Linked DNA regions of Homo sapiens: all the other regions are linked to region 1. Evidence: promoter capture Hi-C in 16 types of primary human blood cells and fetal thymus (Javierre and others, 2016). All regions are on one chromosome and are shown on one strand. Each heading gives the region's core, a stretch centred on a gene start or on the middle of the fragment in contact. The rest is flanking DNA. Distances are from core to core; before and after follow the strand shown. Region 1 holds the start of DHRS13 (dehydrogenase/reductase 13). Region 2 overlaps FAM222B (family with sequence similarity 222 member B). Region 3 overlaps SUPT6H (SPT6 homolog, histone chaperone and transcription elongation factor).

Evidence for each region. The method cuts DNA at HindIII sites, captures the fragments that hold promoters and counts their contacts. A CHiCAGO score of 5 or more calls a contact.
Region 2: a contact is called between a fragment that was not itself captured here and the fragment with the promoter of DHRS13 in region 1, in 17 of 17 cell types (activated CD4 T cells, naive CD4 T cells, naive B cells and 14 more). The highest score is 34.2, in activated CD4 T cells.
Region 3: a contact is called between a fragment that was not itself captured here and the fragment with the promoter of DHRS13 in region 1, in 7 of 17 cell types (activated CD4 T cells, total B cells, naive B cells and 4 more). The highest score is 6.9, in activated CD4 T cells.

Annotation. Positions count from the first base shown.
Region 1 is chr17:28,900,974-28,905,177 of GRCh38, forward strand. DHRS13 (dehydrogenase/reductase 13) reads right to left here and starts at 2,106. Exons shown (of 5, transcript NM_144683.4): 1 at 1,845-2,106; 2 at 1,610-1,728; 3 at 520-643; 4 at 17-328. The coding sequence starts at 1,971. RefSeq lists silencers at 1,005-1,197, 1,699-2,328. The HindIII fragment of the contact is 5,010 bases long and covers 1,184-4,204 here.
Region 2 is chr17:28,762,031-28,766,947 of GRCh38, forward strand. It overlaps FAM222B (family with sequence similarity 222 member B), which reads right to left. Exons shown (of 3, transcript NM_001077498.3): 2 at 4,556-4,677. The coding sequence starts at 4,637. Among named protein-coding and RNA genes, the nearest start is that of TRAF4, 20 kb to the left of the region's middle. The HindIII fragment of the contact is 532 bases long and covers 2,865-3,396 here.
Region 3 is chr17:28,700,573-28,705,478 of GRCh38, forward strand. It overlaps SUPT6H (SPT6 homolog, histone chaperone and transcription elongation factor), which reads left to right. Exons shown (of 37, transcript NM_003170.5): 36 at 369-556; 37 at 867-2,107. The coding sequence ends at 1,053. PROCA1 (protein interacting with cyclin A1) reads right to left here. Exons shown (of 5, transcript NM_001366301.1): 3 at 4,136-4,271; 4 at 3,735-3,863; 5 at 2,625-3,640. The coding sequence ends at 2,986. Among named protein-coding and RNA genes, the nearest start is that of PROCA1, 8.9 kb to the right of the region's middle. The HindIII fragment of the contact is 5,760 bases long and covers 273-4,906 here.

The DNA of each region.
Region 1 (4,204 bases), core at 856-3,355:
AAGAACCAGACCTCACCTGGGTGGGCTGCATAGCAGGTGACGCCAGTGGCCTCAAGCTGGTTGGCGAGCTCCCGGGCAAACAGTACATTAGCCAGCTTAGTGTCAGCATATGCCCGCAGCTCCTGCCGCCAGCCCACCACTGGGCGGTCCAGGCGTTTGAAGTCAAGACGTCCCCGACAGTGGGCAGCTGAGGCTACCACCACCACGCGGCTAGGGGCACATGCCTTCAGGCAAGGCAGCAGCAGATGTGTCAGCAGAAAGGGACCGATATGGTTCACCCGAAGCAGCAGGTTAAACGCCTCACGGGTCCGGCCACAGGAACTGATACCTGGGGCAGAGGCTAAATGTGAGCGGCTGCTCCAGAAGGAGCTCTGCAGCCTTGGCATCCCTATCTATGAGATGGGAGAAGGGGGCATCCTTCCCATGTGTCCACTGGCCCCAGCAGGGCCCCCGCTGGAGGGGGCAGTTGCCCCTGGCCACCCGCCACCCCACCCCCACGCAGGGCCTGCTGCCCCTCACCGGCATTGTGGATGAGGATGTCCAACCGTGGCTCAGAGCTCAGAAAGGCAGTGGCAAAGGCCCGCACCGAGGCCAGACTGGCCAAGTCCAAGGCCATGAAGATGACCTCATTGTTCCCACTCTCCTGTGGAGAGGCAAGGGCTGGGCTTGTCACCAGGCATCTCTCTCCTCTTCCCTCTCCCCAGGCACCAAATTCTGAGAGTCCATCTCCTACTGTTTACTAAAATCTGCCCCTGTGTCTTAGAGTGTACTAGATAAGTGTGTGGATTCAAATCCTGACTTTGCCTTTTACTAAAGTGTGACCTTGGGCAAGATACTTAATCTCTCTGGGTCTCAGTTCTCTCACTGCGTAAAGGGAATAATAATAACAACAGTCCCAATCTCACTGAGCTTTTGTGAGGATGAAAGGAGTTAACGTGTAAAATACACTCTAGCAGCACTGGGTAGGTACTTGCTATTATTATTATCACCTCCTTTCCCCATTACCATTTACCCTAAAATCTGTAACTTCTCACTGGTCTCCTCTCTCCCGCTCTTGCCCCCCCACTCCAGGCACCACGCAGCCACAAAGGAGTTCCTTCCAAAGGCTATTCTGACAGTCCGGAGCCTACTGAGGGCTGTTCATGGTCTCCACTGGTCTCTGCTGCCCAATCTATAAAATCCAAGCTTCTCAATAGGCTCTAGAATGTTCTCCAGCCCCCTCATTTGCCCATCTTCCTCATACTTTGTGCTCCAGCCTCATTAAATCTTTTTCTCAGTTTTTCAGATCAGTCCAGCTCTCTTTGCCTCAGAGCCTTTGCTTATGCTGTGCCCTCTGCTGTTCCCTTTCCTACTGATCATTAACCCAACTTCTACTGATGCTTAAACGTCTCAGAACTGCAATTACGGCCTTCAGGAAGCCCCTCCCCCACTCGGCTCTGGTGCGCCTTCCTCGGGTGACCCCAGCGCTCCGTGCACTCCCTCTTCGCGCTCAGCCGCCCGCGCCGCGCTCTCCTCCCTGGACCCGGATCCTCCGCAGCCCCTTTGCTGGCTTCTCTGTGTCCCGGCGGGTTCTCGGCTCACCGTCCCACGCGCCCCCGCTGCCTCTCACCTGGCGGAGGTCGAAGGCAGCCGCCTCCCCGCGCTCCTGGCTGCGGCAGGCCAGCACCACGCGCGCTCCCCGGCGCGCCAGCTCCAGCGCCGTCATCTTTCCGATGCCGCTGTTGGCGCCTGCGGACCGCGGGCGGGAGCCGAGCTGAGCTGAGCCCGGCGGGCCGCTGCTACCGCCGGCCCGGCCTCCTCTCCGCGCGCCCCGCCAGCTCGCACTCACCCGCCTCCGCACTCACCCGTGACCACGGCCGTGCGGCCCCGCAGGTTGCCCATGCCGCCGCACGGCGGGGCCTTCACCAGGTTGTAGTAGACAAGCACGTAAGCGCCCAGCAGCAACCCCGCGCCCAGCAGCAGCGCCTCCATGCCGGCCGCGCCTCCCGGCTCCCGCCCAGGCCCCGCACCGCCCTGGATCGCCGCCAGGCGGCTGCCGATCCGCCCTGCACAGGCCTGGAACGGCGCCCGGGCGCGTCAGCCTCCGAAGGCGGAGGCGGGCAGGAGGCTGGGCAGGGGCGTGTGCGCGTGCGGGTGCGCGCCGGCCCTGCGAGCGCCCCCTAGGCGTGCGTCGGCGTCCTGGGGGCGTGTGCCTCTGTGGACACCTTTGAGGTGAGTGTGTGCGCTTGGGCCCTGGGAGCGCCCCCTAGGTGTGTGCCTGTGTGAACTCCTGGGTGTGTGTGTCCACGTACACCCTGTGAGTGCACGCTAGGTATGTGCATGCATCTGCAACGCTTGTATGTGAATGATCTCTAGGTGTGTATGTGCCCATGTCCCTGAGGATCACCCTTTGGGTTGTGTGCGTGCCTCTGGATCCTGTGTGTGAGCTCCTGTAAGCACCTTGTAGGTGTTTGTGTGCATTCTGGCAGAGTCCCTCCAGGTATGTGCCTGCATCTGTAGTCTCTGCCAGTGCATGTGCTTGCATATCTCCATATGTTTACTCGAGGTGTATGTAGCACAGTCCCTCCCTTCTGAAGTTAGGTGTGTACATGAATACACGTGTGTCTTTGAGTCTAGTCCTAGATGCTTTTCCCTCTAAGAACAAATCCTTCTCCTTCCTTCCCTTCTGCACAAATCCTTCTCCTTTCCTTCCTTTCCTTTCCTTCCTTCCTTCCTTCCTTCCTTCCTTCCCTTCCTTCCTTCCTCCCTTCCTTCCTTCCTTCCTTCCCTCCCTCCCTTCCTTCCTTCTTTCCTTTCTTTCTTTCTTTTGAGACGGAGTTTCACTCTCGTTGCCCAGGCTGGAGTGCAGTGGCGTGATCCCGGCTCACTGCAACCTCCGCTTCCCGGGTTCAAGCAATTCTCCTGCCTCAGAATCCAGAGTAGCTGGGATCACAGGTGTGTGACACCACACCCGGCTAATTTTTGTATTTTAGTAGAGAAGGGTTTTCACTATGTTGGCCAGGTTGGTCTCAAACTTCTGACCTTAAGTGACCCACCTGCCTCAGCCTCTCAAAGTGCTGGGATTACAGGTGTGAGCCTCTGCACTGGGCCAAATCCTTCGTTTTCTTATCTTCACATCCAGCCCCCAGCTTCTAGGATTCTTCCGTGTTCTCCCCACACAGGCTAGAGAGGACACTGTTAAAGGTGGCACAGGCAGTTAAGGGGTGTCAGAATTCACTCCTTCATTCCCCCTCTGTATCTCCCTACCTCAACCCCACTAGTGCCTTCCATGGCTGAAGGGAAGCAGGAAGAGATAGAGAGTAAAATCTGTTATTGCCTTTCAGGAGGAAATTTGCCTTTGGAATGGTTCTCATAGGTGATAAGAGACAGGCAGAGAAGCTCCATCACTCAATTACAAGTGACCATGATGGCAGGAAGGGTGGGGCTGGCTAGGAACAAATGGGTAAGACCATTCCAGGGCAGAAGGCCGTTGCCTGATACATTCAGTACAATTTAGAACCTGGTATTTGGCACTTATGGTGTGCCCAGCAGTGTAGTTAGACTTGGAAATTCCGAGTGGAAGATATACAAGTTTCTGTCCTTAGGGAGTTCAAAAAGCCCATTAGGGCACCGGGAGCAGAGTGATGACGCCTGCATGGGCAGATGAAAGTCAGGGACAGACCTCAGATTCCAGGGCCAGTTTCCTATTTAGCTGCACTGCGGATTCGGGTTTCCATTGTAGATGCTGTGGGATGAGGCTGGGGGTAGAATATTCATTTTCTATCCCTAAGGCAAAATCCTGACACACAAGCAGATGCACCTACACAAACAGTGCTGGAATATACACAGAGGTGCTCTCCATCTGAGGAGGCTGACCTCAGGAAAACTTCCTGGAGAGTTTTTCACTAAGATCTGGGAGGAAAGCATGGAATTTGGTTTAATGAAGGTCCCCGGGACTTGAGAATTAAGGTAATGCAGCAGACTCGTTTTTTGATGAGGAATAGCAGTTGTAGAGAAGTGTGACTGCAGATCACATGACTAGAAGTGACAGGTCAAGACTAGATTCCACTATCAGTCAGGGTTCTCTGGAGAAACAGCTCCCCCCGGGCCAGCAGACGCACCCATGTCATTCCATTGTCATCCACCCACCCTGGCTCACTTTTCTCCAACACCTCCCCTACCAAACTTCCCTATGGGAATGAGACCTGTTCAAAAGGCCCCCCAC
Region 2 (4,917 bases), core at 1,881-4,380, 140 kb before region 1:
TGAGGTTTTTTTTAGCAGAGGCAAGGGGGAAGCTTGACCTCATTCAGGAGTATGGAAGGGGACACTTATCCACATTGATTAGTTTTCTTTGTCCTGCCTCCACTGATGCTGAAATGGTGAAGAGGGCTGTCAAAGGATTCAGAAATAAAGTGAAATGAGGGTAGGGAGGGTGGCCACAAGGCTACAGTAGCTTTGTTAAGGAAGAACCCCAAAGATGAGTACAGTATATTGAACAAAAAAGGGGTATCATTCTGGGAATACAGCACCATCTACCTCACATACCAGACTTAAGCCTAACTCTTAAAAAAAGTTTTCTGCTGGGCGCAGTGGCTCATGCCTGTAATCCTGGCACTTTGGGAGGCCGAGGCGGGTGGATCATGAGGTCAGGAGTTCAAGACCAGCCTGCCCAGCATGGTGAAACCCTGTCTCTACTAAAAATACAAAAAATTAGCCTGGGATGGTGGAGCGCACTTGTAGTCCCAGCTACTTGGGAGGCTGAGGCAGGAGAATTGCTTGAACCCGGCAGGTGGAGGTTGCAGTGAGCAAAGATTGCACCACTGCACTCCAGCCTGGGTGACAGAGCGAGACTCCATCTCAAAAAAAAAAAAAAAAAAAAAAGTTTTCTCAGCTGGGCATGGTGGCTCACGCCTGTAATCCCAGCACTTTGGGAGGCCGAGGTGGGTGGATCACGAGGTCAGGAGTTCAAGACCAGCCTGGCCAAGATGGAGAAACCCCGTCTCTACTAAAAAAATACAAAAAATTAGCCGGGCATGGTGGCAGGTGCCTGTAATCCCAGCTACTCGGGAGGCTGAGGCAAAGAATTGCTTAAACCCGGGAGGCAGGGTTGCAGTGAGCCAAGATCGCACCACTGCACTCCAACCTGGGTGACAGAGTAAGACTCCGTCTCAAAAAAAAAAAAAAAAGTTTTCTCAACACTTATCACAGCCCCCACACAGGCACCCTGACTACTTATTTTCTTCTGTAATGTATTTCTGTAACTACACAGCCAACACAGATACCACAGCTTTGTAAGCGACTTACTTAAATAGCTTATACCAATAGTGTCATTAATAGAGACATAGACAATGTAGGGAATAGGAAATCTGTAGTTTGTAAAGGGTTAGAGAAACCTGTATTCAAGTACTAGCTTCATCATTTGCCCATACTGAGAGCCTGTCATTCCTCAATTATCAACAGGGATGAATTCTGCTCTCCTACTTCACAGAATTACTAAGATCGAGAGTCAATGAACATTTTCACTAAATGAGCATTTTCATTGAAAATGAAACAATGATGGTCAATAGTTACCATTCAAGGATAGCAGATGTGGCTGAGTCTGACCACAGACAACACAAAGAAAACTGACTAAGGAAGCCCCAACTGCAGGACAACCTGGCCTTCAGCCTGAGAGTTAAATGTAACAGAAAGCACTGCTGTCTATTCCAGGATGGACTGGAGGCAATTTTCTGCCTGAAATTCAGTCCTCCCAATGGAGACCTCTCTGTTCATCCTTCTGTTTTGAAGGTCAGAGGGCACAGGTGGCATAGGCAACAGGAACCTCTATCTGTAGGCAGAGAGGCACAGGCAATGTGTTCAAACACAGATTTCAGAGTCTGAGCTGAGTATGGGCCAGTCACAGGACTGTCATGTGGCACTGGCAAGTGACAAACCCTCTCTCTATACCTTATCCTTCTGACAAAGGCAAGAGAGTCTTCCATATGGAATTTTTGAGGAATGGGTGACAACATATGTGAAAATATTCAATATAGTGCCTGGCACATGGTAGCAACTTGACAAATGTTAGCTATTATTTCTATGACTTTATCCAGTCATTGGGTCAATCTGCCATTTCCAGACCCCTCCACTAGGGGGCAGATATGCACATAAAGAAGCAGTAAAAGAAGGTAATTTTGGCATTTGTCCCCAGAGCCCCAGTGTTCTGCCATGGAAGGAAATCAAAGTTGTTATCTGAAGATGGTTTAAGGACCAAGGACCTTTTATCAGCTATTCAAACAGTAAATATTTACAGAGCCACTACTATATTGTGATCCTGAGAAGGGGAAATACAGAGCAGAGGTTTAGGATTAAGAAAGAAAAAATTTCCAGTGGCGCATGCCTGTAATCTGAGCTACTCGAGAGACTAAGGCAGGAGCACTGCTTAAACCCGGGAGATGGAGGTTGCAGTGAACCGAGATTGCGCCACTGCACTCCAGTCTGGGTGACAGAGGGAGACTCCATCTCAAAAAAAAAAAAAAAAAAAAAAAGGGCCGGGCATGGTGGCTCATGCCTGTAATCCCACTACTCAGGAGACTGAGGCGGGAGAATCACTTGAACTTGGGAGGCGGAGGTTGCAGTGAGCCGAGATCGTGCCACTGCACTCCAGCCTGGGTGACAAGAGCAAAAGTCCTCCTCAAAATAATAAAATAAAATAAAGTGGGCTGGGTGTGGTGGCTCACACCTGTAATCCCAGCACTTTGAGAGGCCGAGGCAGGCGGATCACCTGAAGTCGGGAGTTCGAGACCAGCCTGACCAACATGAAGAAACCCTGTCTCTACTGAAAATACAAAATTAGCTGGGCGTGGTGGTGCATGCCTGTAATCTCAGCTACTCAAGAGGCTGAGGTAGAGAATCGCTTGAACCCAGAAGGCGGAGGTTGCGTTGAGCCGAGATCACGCCATTGCACTCCAGCCTAGCAACAAGAGCAAAACTCTATCTAAAAAAAATAATTAAAAAAAAAATAAAAATAATAAAAGTGAACACCAAGATAAAGCTGCCAATTTGCCCGTCCTCCAAATGGCTTTTCCCTTGATATCACATCTTTGGGTAAAGCTGTCAGAGTGTGTTAAGGAACCCAGAACAAAGGAAGCTTCTCTTTGTCATCTTACTGCATGCCTCTAAGTACGTTCCCTCTCCAGTTGTGTCCCCAGAAGCCCAGAAATAGGCACGATGCAGTTAGGATGCTGATTTGGATGACCAGAGAGTATAACATAACACCTTCATCACCCAATCATCACTTATTAAGATAAAGGATGGGTTGAGAAAGCTATAGCAGAGCTTGCCTTATTGTGTCAGGCAACTGTAGAAGGAGGACTACCACCTTCAGCTGTTATTACATAGAGCTGGATTCACTGGCCAAATTCCAGAACTAGCCAGGCTCTGAGTCTTACGCTCTCTCAAAGAAATGAAGTCTAAAGGCTGGACCATTTTTAACTTCTGATGATGTTCTCACATGGCAGGGGCTGGCAAACGACAGCCTGCGTGCCTGGTCCAGTTGCTGTTTTTTTGTAAAAAAGTTTCACTGGAACACAGACACCCTCATTTGTTTATTGTCTGTGGCTGCCGTTGCCCTACAATGCCAGAGTTGAGTAGATGCAACAGAGACCACATGGCCCACAAAGCTTAAATTATTGGCTATCTGGGCTTTACAGAAAGTTTGTTAACCCCTGTCATAAGGGGTTCAGTTAAGGTGCTGAAGCACCTTTCCTATCAAAGGGAAGCCTAGCCACCTCAATGATTTCCCCTTTGTGCTCTGAATGGAAGGTCTATTCCAAATTTAGGGCTGTTTTTACACCTGAAGATACTATACATGGTAATGTGCCAAGAATAGAATATTTTCCTTGCAGATCATGTATTACAGGGAGAGAAGGTAGGAAGGAGTCCGGGAAAATATGAAGTATAAAACCCCAATTCCAGAAAGTTAAGACAAGAATCTAACAGTTTTCAAAGGCTCAATCTTCTGGGAAGTGTATTAGCAGGAAAATGCCCAGAGAGACTGAGAAAGCTAGCTCTCCATCTCTTCTGAGGGCAAAAGCTCCCTGACTTCCTGTGAACTAAAGTCACACTGACTCAGAAGGCAGGTAGCAAAGCCAAAGGGAACTGTCTGTTTCCATGGTAGACTACTAAGAGAGTTCAAAACAAGAGAACAGCATAGTTTATTTCAGAGATATAGTAAGTAATCTGGACTGTGAGTTTTCATTCAATTCCCTATGAAGGTTCAAACTGAAACACCTTTTTTAAGGGTGATATATATATATATATTTCCCCTGAAGCTCTTTATAGTTTTGTTGTTCAACAGAAAGCTATCAGCAACAATTAAAATTGAGATACAATGGGGAATTACAGAATTTAAGCAGACCCCTAATGGCTGGACACAGTGGCTCACACCTGTAATCCCAGCACTTTGGGAGGCCAAGTTAGGGGCATCACCTGAGATCAGGAGTTTGAGACCAGCCTGGCCAACATGGTGAAACCCTATCTCTACTAAAAATAGAAAATTAGCCAGGCATGGTGGTGGGCACCTGTAATCCCAGCTACTCGGGAGGCTGAAGCAAGAGAATTGCTTAACCCGGGAGGGAGAGGTTGCAGTGAGCCAATCAAGATCGCGTCATTGCACTCCAGCCTGGGTGACAAGAGCAAGACTTCGTCTTAAAAAAAAAAAAAAAAGAAAGGTGTCAAAATTCAAGGTCAGTGTACCCCAGATGTGCTTCAAGGACGGCCCAAATGTAGAGACAAAAACAAAGAATCACACATGCTCCATAGGATCCAGATTACTTACATTTCTGAAGTCCAGTGTTCATCTGCGTGTGAGAAAGAAGCTGAAAGGACAGGTCACCTGGCCCTGGTAGACAGGCTAGCATGGCAGATTGGCATCAACACAACATGGGGCAGTGGCTCACACTGTAATGAACAAAAACAAGGTCATGAAACACAAGGCAACTCATTCGAAGAAGAGAGTAGGAACACTGGATATGACTGGCGTGAGGCCCAAGTTTAGACACATAAAGCAATTTAATTAGCAGTGTGTTGGTTGAAAGTATACTTACATCTTTATCTGTGACGACAATTTGCTGTCAAATATCACTATGGTTAAAATGATTTTTCAGTTACCACAGATGTATGGATGGGAGAAATAAAACT
Region 3 (4,906 bases), core at 1,903-4,402, 200 kb before region 1:
ATTGCCCACAAGGGGCTTCACATGCACAGATGGGGCTGCCACGGCCTTGGTAACTGTCTCCAACAGATATTTCTTGTCCTTAGGCCCATTTGAAGGGGAAGAGGGTAAGAGAGGGCATAACCTTTCCACGGGCCTTTGGGATCTTTGGAACCCGCAAGCCACCAGAAAGTTGACATGGTCAGGACCAGTGGGCACCACTGTGTGCTCGGTGCTGACCTGCAGGCTTCCCACTGCTGGTCAGAAGCACATACTCAGTGGAAGATCATCTGGAAAGCTTTGCTGAGCCCACCCTTGCGCTTACCCAGAATTCACAGCAAGGCCAAACAAGCCCCACACCCATCCCTATTTAACTGTTCATGCCTCTCCAGGTATTCCCAACGCCAGCCCAGCAGCCAGTGGCCACACCACTAATGACCCCTAGCTACTCCTACACGACCCCAAGCCAGCCCATCACCACCCCTCAGTACCACCAGCTCCAGGCCAGCACCACCCCACAGTCGGCCCAGGCCCAGCCCCAGCCCTCTTCCAGCTCCCGGCAACGGCAGCAGCAGCCAAAGTAAGTATCTGGATGGTGGCACAGTGCAGGTCAGTGGTAGGGGCAGGTGTTGTCAAGAGGCCGAAAGGCTTAGCAGAGGCAGGTGCTCTGGATCCTCTGAGGGCCCTGACCACATGATATGCCAGGAACACTAGTTTCTGGGTGAAGACGGAAGAGGGCAGTATGGCAGCCAGCTGCTGCTGTATCTGCCTTATCCCAGTAGAGGGGCTGCTGCCCATAGGTATGAGGTTCCTTTCTGCAAGGGTACAGTGATTGGTGGGAAGACTTCCTTCTAGCAAAGTCCCAATCTCAACTTTTCTTCCCCTCCCAGGTCCAACAGCCATGCAGCCATCGACTGGGGAAAAATGGCGGAGCAGTGGCTGCAGGAAAAGGAGGCAGAACGGCGGAAACAGAAGCAGCGGCTGACACCTCGGCCCTCCCCCAGCCCCATGATCGAAAGCACCCCCATGTCCATTGCTGGCGATGCCACCCCACTCCTGGACGAGATGGATCGGTAGGGGGCCTGCTCCTCGGACTCTGGTTACCTCTGAGGCTGGGAAAGGCCTGGCTGCCCACTGCCTCCCTCCCTGCCCCTCCTTTTATGTCCATAAAGTGGCGTGAAGTGAGACGTTCTCTTTGGTGGTCAACCCGGATGGGTGACAGGCTGGATGGCCTTGTGAACTTGAGCTCAGTGTATGCTAGGCAACAATTCTCCCGCTCCAGACCCTCACCGACCACCTGTCCTGGGACCAGGCTGGGAGGGGAGTGTGGCAGGGAGGAGGAAGAGGAAGGTGAGAATGAGTAGAACAGTTTTGTATTCTACTCCCTACAAGCCATTTTGAACTTCTGCCCTCACCGGACTCTGGGCTGTGACTGGGGCACCAAACTCAGCACATGAGTCTCCCCTAGCTCTCGTGGGGAGAGGGATGCTATTTATTCAGTTTGGGGCAGGAGGGAGAGGAGGGAAAGTATTTCTGACCCTGATGCCAACAGCCGGGTGGCTGTCCAAGCAGGATTGCAGGGGACACAGGGAAGCACTGCCCAGCCCCTGCCTGGCTGCCCTTTCCCCCCTGCTGCTGCCACCGCTTCCTGCCTGTCATTTGAATAAACAGTGTTTCTATTGAGCTCTTGCCAAAGCCTCTCTCTCCAACTCTCCAGCTCTTTGAGGGGTGGCTTTCAAAGCAGTGTTTGGAGCTCCAAGGACTCCCCTGACTCCCTCTTCTGATCCATCAGAGGCAAAGATTCATAGACTAGAGGCAGCTTCTACATCAGACTGCCTGGGGCACATCCCTGCTCTACTTCCCAGCCGGGTGACCCTGTGCCAGTTCCTGCTGCCTTTCAGCTGGCTTTCTTACCTGTAACATGGAGATAGTGATACCTGCCTCATCAGCTGCTGTGAGGACCAAGGCAGCGTGTGCAAGCTCCTTGGCCCAACGCCTGGTACGTCGCAAATGTTACCCGGTATTATTACACCCACTCACTCACCCACAGCACAGCTGCCCCATCCGCCCATGCCTGCTGGTCTTCTCTGGCACCCTGGAGAAAGGCCACAAGTAAATCTGGATTTCTCAACTTGAGCCTCTGCCGTTCATCTCTTCCCTTTTCCCAGCTGGGCCTTGGTCTCTTGCAAGCTCTCAGCAGTAAGGTGTTCCTGCCCCAGGATGGGGCCCTGCTCACCTGCTCCCCTCCAACACACTGGCCCTGGCCCTTTGTCCCTGCCCCACTGCATTTTTTGTTCTGAACTCCTGCCATCCCTGTTTCTGCACAAGGGCTTCGTCTCACAGCTCTGTGAGTCAATGCTGGGAGAGTGGGGCCTCTGGCTCCCTTTCCTTTGCTTGGGGCTCAGCAGAGAAGTCAGAAAAGGCCACTGCTGCCCAGACGTGGCACACTCCCTCCCCTTGTTTTTCTTCATCAAGATCTGGGGGAAGGGGCCAGCTCTGCCAGGAACTCAAGTCAGCTCCCTTCAGCACAAAAGGGCTACAAGGGAGGAGCTAGACCACCAGCTGGGAAGGTCAGTCTCTGGTAGTACCACGAGCACCTTCTGCAGAGCCACTTAGAGGAGGGAAAGGCCAGGCACAGTGGCACAGAGTGGGTTAAAAAGTTCCGTTTATTGGGGGTATCGCTGCAGACAGTACTGCCTGTCCCAGAAGTGGATTTCACACAGACCAGTCTCTCGCAGCAGAGAGGGGAAGCCCTCCTTCCCACCCCAGATACACTCTTCCACCTTGTCCTAGCAGGTAGGAAGAAATAGGGCTGTGCCCCTTCCTTTCCCTCCCACCTGCCTTCCCATGGGCTTCCTTTGTGAAAGCTGGATTGCCTTTGAGAAACCCCTGCAGCCCTGAGCCCACCCCTTGCCCCGCAAGAAACAGCCAGGTTGGAGGGAGAGAACAGCAGCAGAGGGCCAGCCACAGGCTCGATGGCATTTATTCTGCACCCTGACCACCCTGGCCTCAACTGAGGTTGGGGTTTGATCCTGGGGGAGATTTTCTCTTGTTTACCTTCCTGGCTTGTGAGGGCTTTGCCCCTGTCTTTTTGGCCTGGACTGTGTTCTCTCTCTTCCTGGGCGATGATGATTCCACAATATCCTCGCTGGACAGTTCTCCCTGCCCCCGGCCATTGTAACTGTCCTCGCTCTCCAGCTCTTCCCGGCTTTCTGGGCTGGACTCGGACATCCTGGCCAGCTGTCTTGCGCTTAATGATCGGCTCACGTCTGGCGGGGAAGGCTCCAATTTAACCGGGCTTTTCTTCTTAGTCAACTGGCCTTTCTTGGCTTTTTTCTTCAGCTTTGCCTTCTCATCCATCTCCTCCTTGTCTTTCTCTTTTTCCTTTTTCTTCTTTACCTTCTTGATCACCTTGCTGCCCTGACCCTTCCCTGTGGGGCTCTCAGAGCGCCAGATGGTGATGGGCGCTGTGGAGTCAGGGGTACCAGTGGCCATGCTGGTGCCTAGGTCAGGGGAGGCGGTGGCGGGCCCCACCTGTGTCGGGATGGGGGGCTTGCTTTCCTCCTCCTCCTCTTCCTCTTCTTCATTTAGATCATCTGCCCCACACTCATGGTAGAGTGGATGGTGGATCACTGCCACAGAGACAGGTCTGTAGCTTTTGCACCTGGGAGAAGGGACAACGGGGGAAGTTTGACAGAGAGTGGGGGGCAGTGCCCTGTAGAGGCCCCTTCCCCATCAGCCCACCGGGGCTCACTCACCAGCCATACCGGAATCGCTCCACATGCTCCTCCTCCGGTGTGAGCTCAAAGCAAGGGGACTCGATGACATGGGAGCAGGTTGGGCCCGCGCCCCGGGAGCTGCTGCTATCCTCTGAAGAGTCCTTCAGCCTGCCACACATGGGACTCTCAGCCTGGCTCCCATCACTCCCCCAGGGACCCAGAGCCAGAAGCCTGAGGGACAGTGGGCTTCCGCTGGGCCTGCCTCAGGCCAACAGACCTCCTCCCCATTTCTCTTAGAGCAGAGCAAGGTGTGCAGAGCTGGGACTGGGCTGGCAGCACCAATTCAAAGCTGAAGAGGCAAACCAAAGGTTGAAGGGGAGACCACAATGAAAGTTCGGACCTGGCTCTGCCATGGGTCCCCCAAGGGGGCGGGCCCTCACCTAGAATTACAGTTGCAGTGGTTGACAGAGTGTAGGTGCAGGCTGTGGCGGACACAGTCAGAGGCGAAAGGGTAGATGATGTGCCCAGTGCACTGCTTGTGTCTCCAGCAGCACTTGTCAGGCTCCTTGCAGTCACCTGAGGGGGCAGGAGTCTGGGTCATCAGTAGCAGCCGCAGACCTCTGGGTCTTCCCACAGCTCAAGCTAAAACCTCACCAAATTCACCTGCCACCACCAGCTGTCCACCCCAAGAAGTGTTTCTGCTTCAGTAGTAGTAACTTGGCCGCAGAGTAACCCCATGTCCCAGCAAAGTGTCTGGTTCCATGTCTGATACACAGGAGACCCTTATCAAGCCCCCTGCAGTCCTGTGATTCCCTGTTACTTCTGTCCTCTCCCTCCAGTGGGAGGCCTCCACCAGCTCCTGCCTGCCCCTCAACCAGGTGCTGACAATGAGTGGCAGCCCTGCTCCACAAGGCGCCTGGTAGGAGAAGGCCCTCCTGCTATGGCACCCCACAGCCCCAGGAGCAGCAGAGCCGCAGCATCCTCAGTTCCTACACCTGCCCTGGCCCACGCTGATCTCTCACAGCCTGGCCAGGAGCTAAGGCCTGCATCATGCTCCTTAGCTTCTGACTCGTCCTTCCCTCCCCACTTCCCCCTCCTCCCTTCTCCTTCAAGCCCCTTTTTTTCTCCTGCCTGACACCTTTCTCACTCCCCTCCCTTCCCATGCCCCCTTCTTGATCCTTTCCCTGCTCTTCACTCAGCACCTTCCCACA